Linked DNA regions of Homo sapiens: region 1 is linked to region 2. The links are contacts of gene promoters, found by promoter capture Hi-C in human tissues and cell types (Jung and others, 2019). All regions are on one chromosome and are shown on one strand. The core of a region is centred on a gene start or on the middle of the fragment in contact, and the rest is flanking DNA. Distances in the headings are between cores, read along the strand shown. Region 1 overlaps DPYD (dihydropyrimidine dehydrogenase). Region 2 holds the start of DPYD (dihydropyrimidine dehydrogenase).

The links. The method cuts DNA at HindIII sites, captures the fragments that hold promoters and counts their contacts. A contact is called where the count stands out against the background at its distance.
Region 1: a contact is called between a fragment that was not itself captured here and the fragment with the promoter of DPYD in region 2, in 1 of the 25 tissues and cell types used here (dorsolateral prefrontal cortex).

Annotation. Positions count from the first base shown.
Region 1 is chr1:97,513,042-97,518,769 of GRCh38, reverse strand. It overlaps DPYD (dihydropyrimidine dehydrogenase), which reads left to right. Exons shown (of 23, transcript NM_000110.4): 13 at 2,829-3,044. Among named protein-coding and RNA genes, the nearest start is that of DPYD-AS2, 280 kb to the left of the region's middle. The HindIII fragment of the contact is 5,806 bases long and covers 1-5,686 here.
Region 2 is chr1:97,917,435-97,922,981 of GRCh38, reverse strand. It overlaps DPYD (dihydropyrimidine dehydrogenase), which reads left to right and starts at 1,948. Exons shown (of 23, transcript NM_000110.4): 1 at 1,948-2,098. The coding sequence starts at 2,060. RefSeq lists a silencer at 1,743-2,142. The HindIII fragment of the contact is 7,083 bases long and covers 1-3,763 here.

The DNA.
Region 1 (5,728 bases), core at 1,534-4,033, 410 kb after region 2:
ATGGAACCTATCCCCATTGTTCAACACCTAGGTTGTTTCCTTATATCTGTTATTTACTAACACTACTGGATGAATGGAAAAATAGTATTTTCTGAAATTGAAAATCTAAATAACATATTTGTTAGGAGGGAATATGATGAGATAAAAGAGTTGAGGTTAAAGTGTAAGAGCAAAGCATCTACATCCAAAGGCCTTGATGTCTCTTGGAAATCTGAGTTTGGAGATTGCAATTGAGGTTTGGGAGGAATTAACCTTGTGATGGGAGCTGAAAGTAGATATGCTTGAGTTCTCTGAGCAAGGGTACAGAGGGGGAACAGGCTTTTAAAATTCAGAAAAGGAGGTGTACATTAGGGCTTGGATATATGATGAAGCTGAACAGACTGAGTTGCTATAGCACGACAAAGACAAAGCTAAAAATAGCCCTGTGTTGCACAGTATGAAAAAAGACTGCCTATGACAAGTGAAGATTTTAGATTATATTATAAACACATATACATAGTAGCACTTTTGTGAATAAAAGAAAAAATATATAAGAAGCTGTATTTCTCATTTGAAAGAATTGTGTCTGTGTGTGTGTGTGTGTATTTTATTATTGTTTGCTTTGTTGTGTTTGGTTTTTGTTTTGTTTTGAAGCTTAAGGAAAATCTTGCAAAATGTGTCCAAATCATTTTCTTTCTAAGTATTAAGGCAGCAATGTTCGTAAGAATTTCAAAGCAATTACTTATTTATTTAAAACTACATAAATTAAGCAATGCAAGTTGAACTACACATATATCTGCCTCCTTGGGCTGTTGCCTAATGCCATATATAGCTACAATTATGAACAAACCAAAATTCATCTGTAAGATTGAAAAAAATAGATATTTCAACACACAGCCATAAAAAGAGAAGAATACTTGTAAGTTCACTTATTTCACCTTGTAAAGTACAGACACATGGGACCATATGTAGTTATGCTATTGCCATCAAAGGCAAGTTGGCTCAACATTGTTTCTAAGACAGAGAAGTTGCTTCTATACTTTTACTGATATTAATCAACCTGTAGTGTCAGGAAATTCTTCTTTAGTCTAACCCTAAAACTTGCTTGATTGAATTTACATTATGATTACACAAAGCTAAGAAAATACCATCAAGCAAGGTTTCATAAATTAAGTACAAAGAGGCTGGTTAGTGGGACCAGGAGAAAAATTCTGAAATTATTCCCTTTTGTGTTTGAATTTCAGTATGTTTTAAATAAAGTTGTTTGTTTGTTTATTTAATTGATAATACTTTCCATACTTCCTTTGAAATTTAAAAAGGATGATATCGTATATATTCGGTTTACTGCTAACTGACTTTTTGCCAGTTTTTGTCATTGTTAACATCCATGCGTGGACAGATATACATACACACACCTCAAATTAACCTCCAATTTCCTATATTTTACATTGTAGCTTTTGTATTTGCTAATAATCCTTTTAATAGTATAGCAATCCTGTGTGAGGACAGAAAAATTATGTTCACACCCAGACTAACCAATATTCAGAAATGTGCCTTGAAGCCCAGAACATCCCTGGGAGAAGGTGCCTGCCATAGCTGAAGCCTGGATCCCATCAGGCATCTCTTTGCATGTACCAGAGACACATTAGTGTTTCAATTGACAAGTTTGATGCCTTTTTACATATTAAGTGAACTTTGCTTTGCATTGTAAGTGGTGGAGGGCCAGAAATAATTTCTATGCAAGTCATGGAAATCTTTATCTACACAAGACACACTCCTATAAAATTAAAGTTCTGCTCAAATAACTTTTCTTTTGAGTGATGATTCACAAGAGAATGGATTTCTACTTTTGAATTAACTAGCCCTGTCCATTCAGTAACTGCTTTGGCTGAGAAAATTCATCCTTTTTATATTTTCCAATGTTATTTGTCTTTTGGAGATAGAGAGAGAGAAGGGGAGGGAGGAATGGAGTGAGAGAGACACTTTACAAACAAAAGGCCTGATGCAATCTTTAATAACCTCCCCAGTCAGAAAAAGAGACAACATTTAGCAAGCACCTATGTATGATGTTTCAGTGTGCCATGTGCTAAGAGTAAGTGTTTTTATTAAATCATTCCAATAATCCTGCAAAGAAGCATTATTACCATGATCATTTAACAAAGGTAAATTTACAGTTTTGAGTGCCAGTCGAAGATTTTGACGTAAACTATTTGGGACCTATTTGGTTTCAGAAAAAAGAACAAACCCCCGTAATGCATGAGAACACTACCCACTTTCCAAATTAAATGTCTCCCTGCAGCTTATGATTTCCTGAATTTTCCAGTCTTCCTGTGAGGTAGAAATTAGGCAAGCAGCATTCCTGCTGCTATACTGAAAACTATAGAGAAGAAAAGACAGGGACTTATTAGTTCCCTTTCCTAAAATCGCCTAAACAGTAGTGAAATTACTGGAAATTGAATTTAGGCCTCCTGACTTGCCGTTGCCCATATCTCTGAGCACTAAAGGTATTTTCATAACTTAAGTACAAAGAGACTGGATTGGACCAGGGAGAAAAATTCTAAAATTATTCCCTTTTGTATTTGAATCTCAGTATGTTTTAAATACAGTTGTTTGTTGATTTAATTGATTTTATTTCTGCTAGTACTCTTCATACTGCCTTTGAAATTAAAAGGCCATATTATATGAATTCAGTTCACTGCTCACTGACTTTTTGCCAGTTTTTTTCATTGTAAACAGACTGTTGTAATCTATATTAATTCGGATGCTGTGTTGAAGTGATTTTTTTGGTAAAATATTATATGGACAATTTAGATGTAATATGAAACCAAGTATTGGTTTGTATTTTGCAGTCACAATATGGAGCTTCCGTTTCTGCCAAGCCTGAACTACCCCTCTTTTACACTCCTATTGATCTGGTGGACATTAGTGTAGAAATGGCCGGATTGAAGTTTATAAATCCTTTTGGTCTTGCTAGCGCAACTCCAGCCACCAGCACATCAATGATTCGAAGAGCTTTTGAAGCTGGATGGGGTTTTGCCCTCACCAAAACTTTCTCTCTTGATAAGGTAAGAAAATATTATTGAAGTCATATAGAAATGTCTATCATATATTTTAATTAAGGTATAAACATTATAATGGATTTTTTTTACTAAGAAATACTACTTATTAAACTATTTGACAAGACCTATCATTACACATTAATCTTTAGTTTCTTTCCTTCCTTTCTGTCCCATGGAAGAAGGGGCAGGCATATATTGCTCATTTAGTATTGTCTAGGAAGCAACAAAGATATAAATATTATGAAAGTGACTTTTTCATTTAATAATCTCAAACTCTTATTTTTGTATTATTAATTGTTTCATTATTTTTGGATGCCTCAGCTCAAAGATAGGGACACAATTGATTTGGTTTGCACAAAATTCTGGAATTCAATTTATGTTGAAAAGAATCTCAGTGTAACTTATTGGTATTGGTGATAAGATAGATTCTTTATAAATTTGGAATACAGAAACCTTTCTCAAAAACAAATACCCTGAGTTTCATTTAACATTATGACTTTGTACTTAACCAGAAGTGGACATCTTATACTTAGTAGGAAATAAACTACGTATTAAAGTTGAGATTGAGTCTTTAAAGTACACAAAGCATATAAATGCATGTTTTCAAAGTAAGATGCTTTATACAAGAGGATTGCATCCTTATATGGTTTTGAATTAGAAAAGAACAACAGACTTTAACATTTTTAGACCATTTATTGATAAATTACAAATGCTAAACCTCTCAATGTATTTAATACTAACTGGTAGTTAGTAATAATTAATGTATATGAATGTGTGAATTTAGTGACTAAGAAAAGAGTATCATTATTTGAATCAGCTTTATCCTTAGGCAAAGAAAATAATAGAGAACAAACATGCCCCATTAAGCACATTCTCTCTTTTTCCTCTTACTAGGATCAATAGCTGGCATTATTATGGCTAAAACATTAAGGCTGTCTTACTCTGACAGCTTTACAAGATGCAATGTGTAAGTGTGGTCAGGAAAATCTAGAGAATTCTCAAAAGTCAGAAAAAAAAACAGTGCAGGAAAAAAATCCTTCGTAAAGATTTTTTATATTTAAAGAGAAGTTATTTTTTCAAATAGATCAACTGAATATTTTATTAAACAAAGTGTGAAGCGTAACAGAATATACTAGATTCAGCTTTAGAATACCATGAATCAATTGTTTATAACCTTGTAGAATATTGATAGTATATTTGTCTTTGTTTCAATTGATTCGTTAAGAATTACTGAGAAGCTGTAATCAAATGTTTAATCTATTGGAGAAAACTGAGTCTCAGATAGCATATACTGACTATATTAGTTATGCTATTAAAAAACATATATGTAAACCGAAATAGGTGGCTAATTGGGCACAGGTGAAGAATTATAGCTGAAAAAAAGAGGTGTTTGCTGCTTTGAATTTGATGTTTTCTTCGCTTGCAATAATTGAATTCTGATTAATCAGAGACATCAGTCTTTACACTGTTGGTGACATGCATTGATTTGTGATGCTGTGTCTTTCAGTAACCTAGGAGCACTTGCCTTTATTAGGATCACCAGCAGAAATAAATGTGGAAGCTAACTTCCTTCTAAACCTCCAATTTGAATTTAATCTATCAATTTAGAAGTGTGTGATGCTGGTTCAAAAGGGGAGTTATGAACAAATGGAAATTAAATTTGGCACATGAAATGTAACCATGCGGGGTTTTTTGGAAACCCTATTTTACTTACTTTGATGGTGGGTACAACAAAATATTGTGCAGACTATTTTAAACATATTTCTGCAAATTGCAATGACAAAAATAATGAAGCCACCTTGGGCTTATGTAATGCCATTTTCAAAAAAGATTATTTTCCATACGTGATTTTGCAGAGTAGTCCGTTTGCCTCATAGAGGTCTACTTTTTTTGTTTCCTTATCTGGTTCCTAATTAGTGATTAAATTTGTGAATATATAATTACATCGTATGTGCTTATTTCTTATTTCTATGCTTTCCTATTGATGAAATGTTGGTAGTATACAACTCAGTAGTATGAACATACTTATTTCCCCACAGCCTTTTACTAAAGACGTCTATTAAAATATTACATGTACTATACATTTCGGTGACATTATAGTATACCAATTTAGATTAGCCTTATTATAATTTATTATGGCAATTGAAGAATCTATTTAAAATGAATTAAAATTCAGAATCTTGACATTTGAAATTTGGATGCTCTTAATATGACAAAGGTTATTCTATGGGGTTTTGTTATCATATGAAATATTAATATTTCACAATACAATTTTGATGAAGTACAATTTGCCAAGCTTGCATATGATAAAGAAATTAAATGCTTACCAAGGGAGTTCGGTGAAAATTAGAGCCCTGACTGAACATCTGCTAGAAATTTTATTATCCTGTCCTACTGACAGTGTGGCTCCCTCGTTGTTTTTCTGGATTGACAGCTGAATATTGCACTGATTTCTGCAGCAAATATGTTTGCGTGAACTTTGTTTCCCTTTTTTTATTTTTTTGGGAGTTTGGAACATGCTTTTGATTTTCATCCTGTATATATATATATATTTTATACTCTTGACATTTGTAGATGCCAGATTGAGGTCTAATATGCTGTAGCACCGATAGACCATTGACTTACAGTGAAATGCCAGTTGATATCTCAGTAAACAGAAATATTATTATTCTTTACTGTGCAGTCTATAT
Region 2 (5,547 bases), core at 699-3,198:
CTGAGCTAGGAACTGAGTATCCAGTAAACAATAAAAGTACACATGGGCCCCCTCTTCCTGGAGCTTCCTCTCTAAATAGAAGACATATATTAAATGAATCACATTCAAATAAATATTTAAACAACATTTGAAAAGTCTATGAAGACGAAATATAATGAAAAAGACAGAGTGGGTGTAATTTTGTTGGTGATGGGGTTAGATCATAAAGGCTTCAGTGAGACCTAAATGATGAGTAGAAGGGGAAGAAGAGCTCCAAGTGGAGGGCAATGTGCAAAGGTAGAGAAGTGGATGGAGGATGAGAAGATTACCTTGTGGTTGGAACATAATGAGTCAGGGCAAGAGTGGCGGAGAAGCGGAGTAGAGCAGGTTATTCAGCGGTTACTAGGGAGTTTGTATTATATTCTGACTGCAATGGACCATTGAAGGATTTATACCATGGGTACCTGGGTGTGTGGATGTATCGTTGTATGGCATGAGCCAGTTAATACTTTCTAAAGCTCAATCTGGTATGGATATGAGGTAAGAATAGAAGCTAGAATACCAGTAGCTTGGACCATGGTGGATGCAGCAAAATGGAGAAATGAATGATTCAAAATCTATTTAGGAGGTTGACTTCTGAGAGTTTGGGCATAGATTAAATGAGGCAATAAGGATAAAGGAGTCAAAGATGATTCTAAGGTTTCCATTTAACTTTCTAGTGTCTGTTAATATTTGATTCAAGAAAAATGTATCTGTCTTTTAGTAATTTCCAGGTTCTGGAAGGTAATCTGATGGTTTGTTCAGAGAAGCCTTCTCAACCACGCAAGGTACCCATACCCTAGTTATTCTGTCCTATTTTTCTTTTATCTTACAAGCAGGCATCACATTTTCTTACTTGCTTATTTTGAGTATAATCTCCATGACAGTGATGTGTATTCTTGAAGACTATATCCGGAGAACCTAGCACAGTGTCTGTGTCTGGCATATTGAAAATGCTCAATAAACATATTCGTTGAATAAAACGATGAATGGACTAATGAAAAAATAATAAGGGAGAAATACTTGACTCCAAGGTGTCACTACCTAGCCAAGTGCATGAAGGAGTGCCGCAAATGTCCTAACGGAAGTAGAAAGTGTTATGGTAGAAGAGAGGTGGGATGCATCTAACAGGGGTGGGGGGGGGGCGGGGAGAAAAGGAGAGAGGTCTGGAGTACACATATCCTCAAAAAACGAGGTGAATGTTTTCTGGATTGGGACCAACTCTACAGGAAATCTCTCCCTTCTCCTCAGCAAGCTCTAGAGCAAAAACGAAGAGCAACTTTTCAAAAGAGTTTCACGTTTTAGAATAAAAAATATTTAAAAAAATAACCATTAAAATGAGACTTTCCTGCAAAAAGACAACCTTGATTATGTACCACCTGCAGCACTTCCTGTATGCTGCTGCGGGCTGTGGATGTTTTTGCTCGCCTCCCTCCCCTCCCCGCTGGGGCTGTGAACTCTCAGAAGACCGGTGCTTTGGTATCCTCCACTGCAGCTCAAACCCCGCCCACCTACTTGGTGGATGGATGGAGGAACATCTACTATTTCATCCTTGAGGAGTTCCTGAAAATGCAGTTGCCCCTCAAACAATGTATCTACATCTCGCGGGGTTTCTGTGGAAGAAAAGAAAAAGTGCAAGTTGTTGCTTGGAGCGCGGACTGCTTTTACCTTTGCCTGGGGATCCCTCCTATCTGGCCCCGCCTGCCTAGCTCTGTTTTTAGCAGTTTAGAGATTAAAGGCCAGTCCCCAGAGCGGGTGCTCTACTCCCTCCCTCCCTTCTGCTTGCAGGCTGGGGCGCGGAGCGGGCTGAACTGGGAAGGCCGGGCTGCGGCTGCCGTGCCTGGCGCGGGAGCCGCAGGACCGAGAGCGCAGCCCCGCCCCGGGGGCGTTGCCGCCCCGCGCCCGCTCCGCCCCCGCGCCGCCGGCCCTAGTCTGCCTGTTTTCGACTCGCGCTCCGGCTGCTGTCACTTGGCTCTCTGGCTGGAGCTTGAGGACGCAAGGAGGGTTTGTCACTGGCAGACTCGAGACTGTAGGCACTGCCATGGCCCCTGTGCTCAGTAAGGACTCGGCGGACATCGAGGTACGGACTTCGCGCCGGCTCGTCGGTGGTGGCGGGGTGGTGGGGAGTGCTCTGCGGGTAGGTGCCGGGGAGGCCCCCGCGGCCCCCGCACCCCGGAGAGTGAGAGACGCGGGAAAGTTTCCCCCGTGGGAGCTCTGCGGGGGAGCGGAGGAGCGCGGAGCCACAGGCCCGCGTGGGCAGGCGGGGAGCTCAGGGGAGGACTTTCCGCTACTGGAGGGGTTGCCCTTTGCGTCGGGACCTGTTTACTTCGGAAGAGATTTCAGGAAGCCTGTCTTGTCCTCCTCTGAATGTCAGTGACTGAAGAAGCACTGGAGTTCCAGAGAGGTGGACTCTAGGGGGTAGGAGTGCCCATTTCCCACACGTTCTACCCCTTCACCTCCTGTATGTCGTTTCTGGACACCTCCACTGCCCCCATTTCCAATAGCTGAATCCTGCTATTTGCAAAGGTGAAGCATAGAAATAAAACATCTGTGTGTCAGCTGTAGCAGTCGCCTCTAGTCATAGTATTGTTTATGAAATAATTTAACATGGAGAGAATGGAACGAAGTATTCAGAACATGAAAAATGCAGTGCCCTCAGAAAAACTAACTGTATTTTTCTCTCCTCTCAACGGTTTTTGATTCCCTCTTGCACTCCGTTTCTGTTAAAAAAAATCTTTTTTTATGTAAATAAGGTCCTACCTGAAACGACATGGCATTTCCTTTCTCTCTAGTATCTTAATATATGCGATGAAAAGGATTTAATTATCAACAGTGATTTTACACATACTAAACCTAGGTCAGCACTTTTGAGCTAAGACAAACTGATTTTTAGTTTTCTGTTTTGTTTGGGGCTTTTCTTTATTTGAGTCTTCTACTCTGGTAGAAAATTATGTGTGTGTGTGTTTTCTTTAGAAATAACAAAATTTTCCTTTCGTCAGTCCTTTTGGCGGCTTAAGTAAAAGTTTTGCAAACCACCTGTTTGCAAAATAGCTGCTTTTGCCACATTTTGCCTCCGTAATTGAAGAAACTTTATATTCTGGGAGGAAGTAGTCCTGTTTTCTCCAGGCTCCATAACTTGGTTTGAAAAATCATTTTAGTAACAAGAGCCAAAGTGTATTATGTGGACATCTCTGGTTAGTTTACTTTTGGTTTCTGTTTTGGAGAGTTGACTTTTTGATATTGAGCAATATGATATATTTAACAAATAGTTGTTCATCTGTGTGCAGGATAATAGATACTTGTCTTTTTCTATATTTCATTTAGGGTAGTCTATTCCTTTTTGGTCCTTGTGACTTTGACTTAACTTTTTAAAAAATTTTATTTACTAAGTCGAAAAACAAGCTTCTGACAGTATTAAGGCAGTATTGATTTAAGATATCGGAGTTGACTTAGGATGGGTGGCTTTTGGCTCTTTAATTTCAGAATGGTGTGTTATCTGCTTAACTGATTTCTTTCTCTGCAGTTGTCTTCGAAATCAGTTCTTACATTCTACTGAGGAGAAAGATGCCAGTGAAACATTGAATGCCAAGCTTGATTTCATATATTGTTTCAACTAAGAACATTTAAGAAGCCCATCCTTCCCACTCCCTCCACTCAATTCAACCTTAGTCTATATGGCCAGTTTGCCTAATATTACTTTTAATCTAGATTGCTGGTGTTCAAACACCTTCAGCTCTTATGTAGTTCATATGTGCAACACTTTAATCAGTAACATCTTTCATCACTCACAGCACCTTACTTTTCCCTCAAAGTAATACCCGTGATTCATGAGCTAGAATACCATGAAAGAGCATGAAATTAATCATTAAAATATAATGCAGTGAGGAAAAATACATTAAGCTTAGGGGAGCACATTCAAGCATAAATGCCTCAGTTGATCCTATTGATTTACCAAAGTTCATTTTTGTGTTGAAGAATTAGAATGAATTATAAAGGCTCAGTTTTCCATCAAATTTGAATGCTTTTCTTGAACAAATTCATTACAACCATTGTCTAGAGATCTGATTGTGATCATTGTTTTAGCTTCAAATACATGGATAAGCAAGTAATATTTTAAAAATATTGGTATGAAGCAGTTAATGAATGTGATAAGAACACATTGATAAATGTGAAAAGTACTTGACAATTGTTAAAAGAACAGAAGGTGATGATAACAACCTACTCTAATAGTGACTGACTTTTCCCTATGAGCTAACTACAGAACCTCAGGTTTCAGTGAAACAGCCAAGAAATATCTTTGTTTCTGGGGGAAAAGTTATTGAGGTATATATAAAGGTGCTTTGTGTGCCTGCTTCATAATTTCTAGTCTGAATCCAATATCACATCAGGATTTGACGGTTAGGAACATGGAAAACAATCAGATCACCAAACTCCATAGCTGGAATATCCCTGGGCTGGGAGATAGGCAAGGAAAGGATGTGTTACTTGGTAATAGGACCTAGCTCATTACTCAGAATTGTTGTTGTTGTTGTTGTAATCATAGAAGTTGCATGAGAAATCATGTTTTTTTTCAGATATATTAATGTGGTTCAGAGCCTGGCTTCTGAAACCAACTGCCTCTGATTGAGGTCTAACTTTAAGCTGTGTGTTTGGGCAAGTTAGCCTCTCTGAATTGCACATGGAAAATCTGCTAAGGATAATAAACAAATGTCACAAGTTGACAGCATCTTGTTGGGAAAAAGGACAAAAATGTTAAAAAATAAAGATAACAGAAAAATATATCTTATTCTCAGGAAAATCACTTCCAATGAAATGATTAGCATTTTAAAGTCCGTTAATAGTAGTTATATGCTTTTAGAAGTTATTTTGCTTTGTGAGTGTACTGTTTGGATACAGTCTGAATTTTGTCAACGATGACTTTAATACAAACTCTCCTGGGATGGTTTCAAAGAAGGTTAGTATTGGACATTGGTCACTTTCCCAGGCCTCAGCAGTAACTTAACAGCACTTCTTCATTTAGATTGAATTTACAGCCAGTATATTGTGAATATCTGCACACTTGAAAGGAAATGAGAATTATTTTGAAACAGTACTCTTTTGTTCAAGACCTTGTTCCCCTCCACCGGCAAGGATAATGAGAATAGACTTTGAAAGTATATATATCTAAACGAAATGTATGCAGCTGCAGCAAGCTTTTAACTATTTGAATACTAGTACTTTTGATATATATTTGTAGCCAAACCAAGTTGCTATCTGTTACTGTACTGCTACCACAGTCACAATCACAAGGCCCATTCCTTGAATGATCAGTTAGTGAATGTTAAAGGGTTATAAACTTAATTCACATTTACCCTAAATGAAAAAGGGATTTTAGTCCATTGTCCACAAAATCAAATGCATTTTAAGTCAAACAGAAATGGTTTCGGAATTACTGATACTGTGACTTCTATTCATTTGAAAAGGTAATTGGGAATTTTCTGTATGATTAACTAGGAAAATGAGATTAAAAATAGCGAATTTGGAAAATAG